4 separate regions of the Homo sapiens genome follow, and regions 1, 2 and 3 are each linked to region 4. Evidence: promoter capture Hi-C in human tissues and cell types (Jung and others, 2019). All regions are on one chromosome and are shown on one strand. The core of a region is centred on a gene start or on the middle of the fragment in contact, and the rest is flanking DNA. Distances in the headings are between cores, read along the strand shown. Region 1 overlaps HERC6 (HECT and RLD domain containing E3 ubiquitin protein ligase family member 6). Region 2 overlaps HERC6 (HECT and RLD domain containing E3 ubiquitin protein ligase family member 6). Region 3 has its middle 36 kb from the start of HERC6. Region 4 holds the start of HERC6 (HECT and RLD domain containing E3 ubiquitin protein ligase family member 6).

The links. The method cuts DNA at HindIII sites, captures the fragments that hold promoters and counts their contacts. A contact is called where the count stands out against the background at its distance.
Region 1: a contact is called between a fragment that was not itself captured here and the fragment with the promoter of HERC6 in region 4, in 1 of the 25 tissues and cell types used here (bladder).
Region 2: a fragment that was not itself captured here is called in contact with the fragment with the promoter of HERC6 in region 4 in 3 of the 25 tissues and cell types used here (heart left ventricle, ovary and stomach).
Region 3: a fragment that was not itself captured here is called in contact with the fragment with the promoter of HERC6 in region 4 in 4 of the 25 tissues and cell types used here (adrenal gland, heart left ventricle, mesendoderm cells and 1 more).

Annotation. Positions count from the first base shown.
Region 1 is chr4:88,412,243-88,415,484 of GRCh38, forward strand. HERC6 (HECT and RLD domain containing E3 ubiquitin protein ligase family member 6) reads left to right here. Exons shown (of 23, transcript NM_017912.4): 12 at 835-1,024. LOC102723458 (a long non-coding RNA gene) reads right to left here. Exons shown (of 5, transcript XR_938976.3): 5 at 3,139-3,242. Among named protein-coding and RNA genes, the nearest start is that of HERC6, 35 kb to the left of the region's middle. The HindIII fragment of the contact is 6,889 bases long and covers 1-3,242 here.
Region 2 is chr4:88,437,433-88,440,492 of GRCh38, forward strand. It overlaps HERC6 (HECT and RLD domain containing E3 ubiquitin protein ligase family member 6), which reads left to right. Exons shown (of 23, transcript NM_017912.4): 20 at 279-349; 21 at 2,442-2,625; 22 at 2,716-2,818. All of the region lies in intron 1 of LOC102723458 (a long non-coding RNA gene), which reads right to left. Among named protein-coding and RNA genes, the nearest start is that of HERC5, 18 kb to the right of the region's middle. The HindIII fragment of the contact is 9,680 bases long and covers 1-3,060 here.
Region 3 is chr4:88,341,717-88,344,828 of GRCh38, forward strand. No RefSeq gene overlaps it. Among named protein-coding and RNA genes, the nearest start is that of HERC6, 36 kb to the right of the region's middle. The HindIII fragment of the contact is 5,342 bases long and covers 1-3,112 here.
Region 4 is chr4:88,376,927-88,380,138 of GRCh38, forward strand. HERC6 (HECT and RLD domain containing E3 ubiquitin protein ligase family member 6) reads left to right here and starts at 1,926. Exons shown (of 23, transcript NM_017912.4): 1 at 1,926-2,194. The coding sequence starts at 1,996. RefSeq lists a silencer at 2,149-2,338 and an enhancer at 2,349-2,678. The HindIII fragment of the contact is 12,273 bases long and covers 1-3,212 here.

The DNA of each region.
Region 1 (3,242 bases), core at 727-3,226, 35 kb after region 4:
AAACAAATATAAAGAATACCATACAAGTTTATTCCCACTAGTATGTTTTTATATACGTCCTATTTTAAAAGTTTACTTCTGGGCCAGGTACACTGGCTCATGCCTGTAATCCTAGCACTTTGGGAGGCCAAGGTGGGAGTATCACCTGAGCCCAAGAGTTTGAGACTGGCCTGGGCAACATAGTGAGACTCCATCTCTACAAATAATTTTCTAAAATGGGCTGGCTGTGGCAGTGCACTCCACTTAGGAGTCTTGAGGTGGGAGGATTGCCTCAACCAAGGAGCTTGAGGCTGCAGTGAGCTATGATTGAGCCACTGCACTCCAGCTGTAATTGAGCCACTACACGCTGAAGTAAAACTTTACCTCTGGATGAAATAAATAATATAAAAATTTAGAGCTATTTTTCTCTGCAAATTTTTCTACTGATACATGAGAAAACAGAAAGAAAGAAATGGATATTGTGTGAGGGGAAGGGGACAGCTCTTCCTTCTAGAAGGAGGAATACTAATGTGACCTGCATACAACATTGCTTTTGAAGGGCTTTGTATTCGTTTTGAATCCATAATTCACTCAGTATATCCATGCTCATGGGATTTCACTTTATTTTCTTCAGGGAACCTGATATAAAATGAGGAGGATGGCTCTCATGTACTATATCAGGGGTATTTGGGATGGAAGGAGTGATGGAGTCTCATCAATAGGTTTCAGAATGGCTAAGTGATTATTCTAATTGGAACATGGTGGAGTGAAACCCTTAATTTCACAGCTTGCTTCTCACAATCCTCTGTATCTAATATATCCTGGGTCTGTTCCCTGATCCTATTTTTACCACAGATAACTACGTGTCTCGAGGATGATCTGCTCAGAGCTCTTCCATGCCATTCTCCACACCAAGAAGCTTTATCAGTTTTCCTCCTGCTCCCAGAATGTCCTGTGATGCATGATTCTAAGAACTGGAAGAACCTGGTGGTTCCATTTGCAAAGGCTGTGTGTGAAATGAGTAAACAATCTTTGCAAGTCCTAAGTAAGTTTTATGTCACTTTATCTGTACTCTCAATATAGAGTCACTCTCTGAAGTAGACGTTGTAGCAAATTTTGAATAGAAGATTTCAAAATAGACAAGTATTTGAGAACATGGCATGTAAATTATTGAAAAGATTAATAATCTAAAGCTATTATAATTATTAGTTCTATCATACAAAGCAGGTGTAGTTTTTAGACTTGGATGTGGCTTTGACATCAGAGTTTGGTAGCTATAAGGTATTCATTTTAGACTTGGATGTGGCTTTGACATCAGAGTTTGGTAGCTATAAAGTATTCAATCAAGATCAATCCATACTTTAAAATTTTTTGCTCATGTTATTTTGAAACTTTTGACATTTTGACCAGATGATGAAAAACAAATGTTAAACTTTGTATTATTATTATTTACTTTATTCAGTACTGTATTATGTCCTTTTATAGCTTTTAGCGTATATTGAAAGTTCAGTGATTACCCAATAACCCAATGGGGTCCAGATGTTTATATACCCTTCTACATAGAGGAGAGGGGAGGTAGGGAATGTAGACAATTCTTTTGAGGAGTAGTAAATGACTATTAGGGAGAATGAGTGACCCAGGAAACAGAAATTAACTTGTAAATGATTCTCCTTGGAATTGGAATGAGCCTGAGAGGCAGGCATTATCTTTTGAAAAAATACATCTAGGTGTGGTTACATTCCTCAGTCGTCTTGTCTGTGACAGATAATGTAATTTCAGAGATGGCATGAAAGGCAATTCTGTTCTCTGTAGTGGGTCCAGTCTTAAGGTAGATAAGGGAGTGTCAGAGAAAAGCCTTTTCCAGCATCTGCTGACCTTCAAGGGCCTTTAACTTAAAATAATCAGCATACCAGGGTGCCATATTTTGGGGCAAATTTCCCTGGACTCCTTCACTTAAGAGGTACAGAGGGCCAGGCATTGTGGCTTACACCTTAATCCTAGCATTTTGGGAGACTAAGGTGAGAGAATCTTTTGAGCCCAGGAGGTTGAGGGCAGCCTGGGCAACATAGTGAGACCCCGACTCTACCAATTTTTTTTTTTTTAAATCAGCCATGCATGGTGGCACACACCTGTGGTCCCAGCTACTTGGAAGCTGAGGCAGGAGGATCACTTGAGCCCAGGAGTTTAAGTCTGTATTACTGGAAAGGGGTCCCAATCCAGATCCCAAACAAGGGTTCTTAGATCTCACACAAGAAATAATTCAGGGAGCGTCTATAAAGTGAAAGTAAGTTTACTAAGAAAGTAGAAGAATAAAAAATGGCTACTCCACAGGCAGAGCAGCTCCTTGGGGCTGCTGGTTGCCCATTTTTATGGTTATTTCTTGATTATGTGCTGAAGAAGGGGTGGGTTATTCATACCTCCCCTTTTTAGATCATATAGGGTAACTTCCTGGCATTGCCATGGCATTTGTAAACTGTCACGGTGCTGGTGAAAGTACAGCAGTGAGGACGACCAGAGGTCACTCTCATTGCCATCTTGGTTTTGGTGGATTCTAGCCGGCTTCTTTACTGCAAGCTGTTTTATCATCAAGGTCTTTATGACCTGTATCTTGTGCTGACCTCCGATCTCATTCTGTCATCTAGAACGCCTAACTGTCTGGGATGGTAGCCCAGTAGGTCTCAGCCTTATTTTACCCAGCTCCTATTCAAGATGGAGTTGCTCTGGTTCAAATGCCTCTGACAGCAGCAGTAAGCTATCAGCATACCACTGCACTCCAGCCTGGGTGACAGAGCAATACCCTATCTCAAAGAAAAACAAAAAGGTACAGAGGATATGTACAATGAAATGTAAGCCACCCAGTTCCCCTCCCAGAAGTGGCTACAGGTTCTAGTTTCTTGTGTAACGTTTGAAAGATATTCTATATATAGAAACATACAAATGTATTATTTCTGTTTTTAATGGTAGCAAACTATTAAAGTTCCTCTTCCACAACTTGCTTTCTCCCACTAAACAGGATATCATGGAGATCATTCCAATAGAGAATCTATAGAACTGCCTCATTCTATTTAATGGCTGAAGAATGTTCTATTGTGAAGCATTTCATTGTACATATATAAATTCACACATGCAGGAAACATTCCAGAAAGCAAAATCACTGAGTCAAATTGTATGTACATTTTTATTTTGAGATATTTTGCCAAATGACCCTCCACAGAGTCAAGGTCATCATATCACCCAATTTGAAGTGGTTGTCATTCACACTG
Region 2 (3,060 bases), core at 404-2,903, 60 kb after region 4:
TACTCTCAAATAAAGTGAAGCTATGGTGATTATTCAACTAGTGTAAATAATTTAACAACTAAACGATAATTTAGGCATGAAAGTAATGTACAACATGTACTAGGGTAGGCTTTTTTGCTTTCACATGTATTTAAAAGGCTGAACTACATAAAAAATTATTTAGCTCCAAGTTATTTTCAGTTACATAGGGGAAAATGTATTGGCAATAAAGATATTATGGGTGGTTGATTATTCAAACTTACTTTGATATTTGGTACCTGAATACATTTTGGTTACAGATACACTGGGACCAAAATGATGTTGACTTAATTCCAAATGGGATCTCCATACCTGTGGACCAAACCAACAAGTAAGTTTTGACAGCTAGAATATCTGTTTTGAATATACTGTACATAAAATGTTGTATCACTATTCTTTTAAAATGTATTTTTAAATATGGTTCACACCTGTAATCCCAGCAATTTGGGAGGCTGAGGTGGGTGGATCACTTGAGGTCAGGAGTTCAAGGCCAACCTGGCCAACATGGCGAAACCCCGTCTCTACTACAAAAATTAGCCAGGTGTGGTGGCACATGCCTGTAGTCTCAGCTACTAAGGAGGCTGAGGATTGCTTGAACCCAGGAAGTGGAGGTTGCAGTGAGCCGGGATTGCGCAACTGCACTCAAGCCTGGGCAACAGAGTGAGACTGTGTCTCAAAAAAAAAAAAAAAAAAAAAAAGCATTTTAGCTTCTCAGGTGATTGTTTTAGCTCCTAATCTTTTAGAAAAAAGAAGCTTTTAAGATAAAAGAAAAGGAGAAAGAATTCAGGGTTCAATATTTCCTTTGTAGCTCTTTTTACTATTTATTCATTTAGCAAATATTTTTGAGCCCCTATTCTGTACCAGACTCTATTCTAGGTGCTGGAGATACAGTAGTCAAAAAGACAGACAAAATTTGGAGCTTAAATTCCAGTGGGGCAGAAAGACAATACACAAATGAATCATTATTATTTTTAATAGAGATGGAGTCTTGCCATGCTGCCCAGGCTGGTCTCGAATTCCTGAGCTCAGGCAGTCCTCACACCTCAGCCTCCCAAAGTACTGGGATTACAAGGGTGAGCCACCGCACCTGGCCACAAATGAATTATTATGTAATATAATGTCAGATAAGGATGAGCACTCTGAAGAAAATTAAAACTGATTAAGAAACTAGGGAGTTCCAGGTGGTGGTATGCTGGAGCTCACTAGTACCAGCTTGTGAGAGCTGATTGTTAAATTTTCAAAAATGTTAAGAGTTTATTATCAAAGTATTAGTAGCTGAAAATCAGCCACAGTGGGAATATTAACACCACAGAAATTCGCCAATGCTGCAAATGTGTGTCCCCTCCCCTCCCACTCCTTTTCAGAGAGCTGGTTGTTAGATATTTACCAGCACACCAATGGTTACAGGGGAAGGCAGACAAGAGTTGATTTAGATAGGCTAGTCCACAAAGGCTGCCCAAAGTGTGGGAGACAATCATGTCTCTGATGGAAATGCCTCCAGTAGCAACCCTGCCATCAGGAAATTAATCATTTAGTAGAAATTACATCCTGTAGTATAAGACAGACCTTGCAGGAATAATTTTCACAAAGTGACATGTGTTGTGAGAGGGGACAAGCAAAGGAACAAAAGGATCAACCCTGAGAAAGTCTTACTTATATTGAAATCTAATGGATGGTAGAAGTTATCAGGTAAAGAAGAAATGCTGCATTCTGTGGCCTAACTACAAAAGAGAGACAAGACCTATGAACGGGGCCAGAAGTGAAAATGGAAGTGGGAGCTGGGCACCATGGTGCATACTTGCAGTCTCACCTACTCAGGAGGCTGTGGCGGGAGGTTCGCTTGAGGCCAGGAGTCCAAGTCCAGCCTGGGCAACACAGGGAGACCCCATCTCTTAAAAAAAAGAAAGAAAAAGAAAGGAAAGAGAAAGAAAGAAGAAAGAAAGAAAAGGGAAGGGAAAGGGAAAGGGAAGGGAAGGGAAAGGAAAGAAAGAAAGAAAGAAAATGGAAGTGGGAAGAGGCCCCTTGCTGAGACTGGCAAGGTCAGATAATTGAGGGAGGAGCTAGGCTTGGGAAGGCCTGTTGATCCCTGCTAAGGAGGTTTGGAATTTACCCCAAGGGCAATGGGAAGCCTTTGAAAGACTTTAAGCAAGAGAATGACATATTCAGATTCATGTTTTAAAAAAATCCTCCTGACTGCAGTGAGGAAAGTGAGCCAAATAGTTTTAAACCTTCTGATTATATTTTCTAAATTTCTTTCTTCTAGCTGACCAGGTTTTGGTCACAATACAACATTCTTGTGCTATATAGAAGTAATTTACTTTTCCTTCTCAATAGAAATAGTAAAAAGAACAAAGTATAAAATCTTTTAATCATTGGCCTTTTCCTTCCTTTCTTTTTTTTTTTTTTTTTTTGCTTCCCTCAAGGAGAGACTATGTTTCTAAGTATATTGATTACATTTTCAACGTCTCTGTAAAAGCAGTTTATGAGGAATTTCAGAGAGGATTTTATAGAGTCTGTGAGAAGGAGATACTTAGACATTTCTACCCTGAAGAACTAATGACAGCAATCATTGGAAATACTGATTATGACTGGAAACAGTTTGAACAGGTAGGTGATACCTAAAGTGCCCCAATTTTTCCGAACAACTTCTATATATTCCACCCCACTCAAATCATTTTTCTCCCTCTTTCTCTCAAGAATTCAAAGTATGAGCAAGGATACCAAAAATCACATCCTACTATACAGTTGTTTTGGAAGGCTTTCCACAAACTAACCTTGGATGAAAAGAAAAAATTCCTCTGTAAGTACTGTGGTACTAGATGGACACATAATTATGTATCTTTTAAAAAGGTACAGTCTTGTTTAGAATGAAGCCATTGAAGTGGCCTCATTGTCTGGGGTGACACCCAAGGTTCTTTGTCTCACAGCCATGGAGATCAAGGACATGGACACACACAAAGGGTGAGGTATAGAGCAGAAACTTAATAGGCGAAAAGAGAATAGCTCTCTGCTACAGAGAGGGGTCCCAGAAAAATGAGTTGC
Region 3 (3,112 bases), core at 359-2,858, 36 kb before region 4:
GGGAAGCCCAGTCAACAGGTCAGAAGGTACAGCTGGGAGGTTTTAGCATTACGTACCGTGTGTTTTTCGTTTAAGGGAGAAGCTTATTTGCTCACTGCTATAGTTTGGATGTTTGTCCCCTTCAAATCTTGTGATGGAATCTGATCCCCAGTGTTGGAAGTGGGGCCTAATGGGAGGTGTTTGGGTCATGGGAGCAGATCCCTCATAAATAGATTAATGCTCTGTCTGGGAGGGTGGGTGCGGGGTACGAGTTCTCACTTTATTAGTTCCTGTGAAAGCTGGTTGTTAAAAAGAACCTAGCACCTCCCCTTTCACTTCAGTGGCAAAGTACACTCCAATACTTTCACCCTGATGAAGTCCTATTCTTTAGTTTTATACTTACTCTTATTCTTGTTCCCGTTCTTATGCCACCCTCTACCTCTCCCCAGCTATCTCTACCACACTATCAATCTCACTCTCTCCTAGCCATTTCTAATCCTTCTTTAACAAACAATTGCTGGCTTTGCATTTCTCTTTCCTCCAAAACTGCCAAGGCCTTGACTTACTGCTGAAAAAGGAGGACTCTGTATATTTTTAAATGAGCAGTGTTGTTTTTACCTAAATAAATCTGGCCTGGTGTATGACAACATAAAAAAACTCAAGGATAGAGCCCAAAAACTCGCCAACCAAGCAAGTAATTACTTGCTTGGGCACTCTCTAATTTGATGTCCTGAGTCCTCCCAATTCTTAGTCCTTTAATACCTATTTTTCTCCTTCTCTTATTCAGACCTTGTGTCTTCCGTTTAGTTTCTAAATTCATACAAAACCATATCCAGGCCATCACCAATCATTCTATATGACAAATGCTCCTCCTAACAACCCCACAATATCACCCCTTACCATAAAATCTTCCTTCAGCTTAATCTCTCCCACTCTAGGTTCCCACGCCAACCCTAATCCCGCTGGAAGCAGCCCTGAGAGACATCGCCCATTATCTCTCCATACCACCCCTAAAAATTTTCGTTGTCTCAACACTTCAGCACTATTTTATGTTATTTTTCTTATTAATATAAGAAGACAGGAATGTCAGGCCTCTGAGTCCAAGCTAAGCCATCATATCCCCTGTGACCTGCACATATACATCCAGATGGCCTGAAGCAAGTGAAACATCACAAAAGAAGTGAAAATGGCTGGTTCATGCCTTAACTGATGACATTGCACCATTGTGATTTGATCCTGCCCCACCTTAACTGATCAATTAACCTTGTGAAATTCCTTCTCCTGGCTCAGAAGCTCCCCCACTGAGCACCTTGTGACCCCCACCCCTGCCCACAAGACAACAACCCCCTTTGACTGTAACTTTCCACTAACCACCCAAATCCTATAAAACTGCCCCACCCCTATCTTCCTTGCTGACTATCTTTCCGGAGTCAGCCCGCCTGCACCCAGGTGATTAAAAAGCTTTATTGCTCAAACAAAGCCTGTTCGGTGGTCTCTTCACACAGATGCGCATGACACTATGGTTTTGCTTTCTGAGGTTTCAGTTACTTGCAGTTGACCATGTTCCAAAAAATATTAAGTAAATTACCCAGAAATAACAATTCATAAGTTTTAAATTGTACTCCATTCTGAGTAGCATGGCGAAATCTTATGCTGTCTGGCTCTGTCCCATTGGGTACATGAATGATTTCTTTGTCCCGTGTATCCACGCTGTTTAAGGTGGTGGTACCTGCCTGTGAGTCACTTGGCAGCCCTGTTATTTAACAGTTGGACAGTCACAGTATCTCAGTGTTTGTGTTAAGGGAACCCTTCTTTTACTTAAGAATGGCCCCAAAGTGCAAGAGTAGTGATGCTTGCAATTCAGAGATGCCAAAGAGCAGCTGGAAAGTGTTTCCTTTAATTGAAAAGGTAAGTTTTTTACTTAATAAGAAAAAAAATTATGTGCTGATGTTACCATGATCTATAGTAAAAATGAATCTTGTAGCTGTGAAATTGTGAAAAAGGAAGAAGAAATTTATGCCAGTTTTGCTGTCACACCTCATCCCGCAAGGGGTGCAATGCATTATGGCTGCCATGTGTGATATTACGAGATAAAAAATAGTTCATGGGTGTCAACCTTCCACCCTGCGCTCAGCTCTGCTAGGTATTCTAAGGATTTACAGAGGCTAAGAAATCTCATACAGAACATAATATGTACACATAGAAAGCACAGAGAAACAATGACACACTAGCATTGAGAACTCAGTGGAATGTTACTGACAAGTGCAGTAGGAGTTCAGCAAAGAAGAGGAGGCCACTATAGGCAGGTGGAGTCAGAAAAGGGGAATGACCTTGTGGGGTCACTGGAATTTGGATCTGTGGAGAGAAGGGGAGGAGAGTTTCTAAAGAGAAGAGTGACAAGACCAGAAGCAGGTACAAAACCATGAACCTGGTTTGTTTAGAGGACAGTGAGGAGATCTTTCTGGTTGACTGTTTAGAGGTGGGAAGGCCAAACCGAGGAATTATGTCTGACAGAAGGGAAGAAATGACCATGGTGGCCTTCTCAGACTCTGTGGGAAAGGCCTCTACCTATCCAGTGAAAGTGTCTACCCAGACCAAGAGGTATTTTAGTTTCCTGACTCGGGGCATGTGAGTAAAATCAATTTGCCAGTCCTGGGCAGGGGCAAATTCTTGAGCTTGATGTGTAGGGAAGAGAGGGGGCCTGAGAAATTCCTGAGGAGTAGTAGAATAGTAGATGGAACATTGAGAAGTGATTTTTTGAGGATGGATTTTTACGATGGAAAGGAAATGAGAGGTTTTAAGAGGCAGGCTAGTGGCTTGTAACTTACATGGAAGAGGTTATGAAATGACGACAGAATAAAACAGGCCTGTGAGGCTGGAAGGAGATATTTTCCTTGGTCCAAGAACCATTTGCTTTGTGTGGGAAGAGATTGATAGGTGGAAGTTTCAGTAGGAGAGTAGGTGGGAGTGACTGATGAGAAGGAGAAAAACTGGCCACGAGGGACAGAAGTTGGGACACTAGCTGATTCTTTAGCTACCTTATCAGCATAAGCATTGCCCTGAGTGATGGGATCTGACACCTTTTGATGGCCCTTGCAGTGAATGACTCCAGCTTCTTTTGGAAGTAAAGCGG
Region 4 (3,212 bases), core at 676-3,175:
CCTATAATCACAGCACTTTGGAAGGCTGAGGTAGGCAGATCATCTGAGGTCAGGAGTTCAAGACCAGCCTGGGCAACATGATGAAACCCCATCTCTTCAAAAAATACAAAAGTTAGCTGGGCGTAGTGGCACGTGCCTGTAGTCCCGCTACTTGGGAGGCTAAGGCGGGAGGATTGCTTGAACCTGGGAGGCGGAGGTTGCTGTGAGTTGAGATCACGCCATTGCACTCCAGCCTGGGCATCAAGAGCGGAAACTCTATCTCAAACAAACAAACAAATAAATAAATAAAAATCAGTGCTCAATCCTTACCTTGCTCCACAAGAAATTGACAGAGTTGATCCTTCCTTTATTCGTTACTTGCTCTGTCTATAACTCCTCCTCCTGGTTTTCCTCCTATGATCAGTCCTCTAGCCTCTGCTATACTGTCACCACATTCACCCCCTGGGTGTTCTCATTCAGCCATCTGGCTTTAAGCATCACCTCTACACTGATGGCTCCCAATTTTCTGACTACACCCAAGCTTCTCTCTACAACTCCAAAACAGTTTATCCTATTGCCTTCTTGATTAACAAGCATCTTACAGTTATCATTACCAATCTGTATTCCAGACACACATAGCTTAAACCTGCACCTTCCTCAGGGTTTCCCAGTCCAGTAGAGTTTACCTTGGAGTAACCCCTAAAGCCAACCCTGGAGTAATCCCTAATCCCTTTTCTTCTTTCCCCCCAATTTCTAATCCATCATCAAATCTGTGGACTCTTACTTTCAAAACATGTCTTGAATCTAATAACTTCTCCTCTCTTCCCTTCTAGGATATCACCTGACCTGAACTCTGAAGTAGTCTCTGCTAACTGGCTTTCTGCTTCCATTTTTGTCCTATTATTTTTCACACAGCAGCCAGATGAATCTTTAAAAACTGAAGTCAGATCATGGCTCTTCTCTATTCAAAACCTTCCAACTGCTTCTTTTCATCCTCTGCCCTCAGGTGTGATCACGACTCATTCCCTCATTTCCCATGTCCCCTCAGCTCTCTGCACAAATATCACTTCATCAGAGAGATCTTCCCTAATATCATCTCAAATACCAGTGCCTTCCGCCTCCACCCTCTGGTTCCTGTTGTATTTTTCGTTGCCCCTTGATATTACACTATGTGTTTATCTGTTTATGTTCTCTTTCCCTCAGGAGAATGTAAACGCATCAAGAGGATCTTGTCTTTCACTAATTGTATTTTCAGGCGGGGCCCAGAGGCTCACGCCTGTAATCCCTGCACTTTGGAAAGCTGAGGGGTGGATCACTTGAGGTCAGGAGTTCGAGACCAGCCTGGCCAACATGGTGAAACCCCATCTTTACTAAAAATACAAAAATTAAGTCGGGCGTCGTGGCGCATGCCTGTAATCCCACCTACTCGGGAGGCCGAGGCAAGAGAATCAGCTTGAACCCGTGAGGTGGAGGTTGCAGTGAGCCGAGATGGTGCCACTGCACTCCAGCCTGAGCAGCAGAGCGACACTCCATCTCAAACAAACAAACAAACAAACAAACAAAAAACAAACATATTTTCAATGCCAAAAAAGGTCTGGAATGAGGTGGGCACTCAGATGCTTTATTAACCACTCTAGGTATTATTCTAACACTTTATGTGCCTATTAAATTATCCCGACATATTAGATTTGCTGAATTGCAGTCCATATTTCGTAGATATGATAGCTGAAGCACGGAATCATTAGGTAACTTGCCCAAAGTGGCATTCACGACTCATAAATGGCTTAGGATGTAAACTCAGTTTTATTCCCTGGGACGCCCTCTCTGCTCTTCAGCACTTGAAGTTCAGGCAGCGAGAGTTGACATGGGGCCAGGGCTGCGCCCCTGGGGCGGGTTGAAGACAGGGTGAGTCTCTTGATATTCAGGAAATCATCGCGCACCCAGTCACCAGCGTTCGGGAGCCTGTCGCAGCGGGACCGACGGAATCCGGAGCAGGCGACAGGGCGCAGAAGCGGGATGTACTTCTGTTGGGGCGCCGACTCCAGGGAGCTGCAGCGCCGGAGGACGGCGGGCAGCCCCGGGGCTGAGCTACTGCAGGCGGCCAGCGGGGAGCGCCACTCTCTGCTGCTGCTGACCAACCACAGGGTCCTCTCGTGCGGAGACAACAGCAGGGGTCAGCTGGGCCGCAGGGGCGCGCAGCGCGGGGAGCTGCCAGGTGAGCGGGGGGCCCCAGGTGCAGGGTGTGAGGACCCCAGTACATGGGCGCGGGGGCTTGGGTACCGGGCGCAGGGAACCGGGTGCGGAGCGCTGGGACCCGGGTGAGGGGCGCGGGGGCCCAGGTGCAGGGAGCGGCTCAGATGCTGGGCGCCGCGGGCCAGGCAGGGAGGGGTGCTGGGAGCCTTGGATTCCTCGGGGCCCGAAGAGCCACAGGAACCAGGAAAATGGTGCCCTGTGCTACCGAAGAGCAACTTCCTCAGTTTCGTTTTCCCAACGCCCCTCGGATTTGTTTCGGTTTCCAATTCAAGTTCAAAGCGAAACTGAGAGCCGAAACTAACCTGGTCAGCGCTGCTCTGGAAAGAGATGTGGTCCCTCCGGCTTGCCTTGCAGATAAATCCTCGCCTGCGCGGTTCTACCTGGAGAAGGCAGCCTGACCTTACAAACGTGGTTTGTGGGTCAGACACCTGTATCTCCCTTAGAAATACACTGGGGCATTAAAAAATATATATATATAAAAATATATATATAAAATATATAAATATATATAATATATAAATATATACAAATATATAATATATAAATATATAATATATAAATATATATAATATATAAATATATAAATATATAACATATAAATATATATAATATATAAATATATATATAACATATAAATATATATAATATATAAATATATATATAACATATAAATATATATAATATATAAATATATATATAGCATATAAATATATATAATATATAAATATATATATAATATATAAATATATATAATATATAAATATATATAATATATAAATATATATATAATATATAAATATATATAATATATAAATATATATAATATATAAATATATATATAATATATAAATATATATAATATATAAATATATATAATATATAAATATATATATAATATATAAATATATATAATATATAAATATATATAATATATAAATATATATATAATATATAAATATATATAATATATAAATATATAT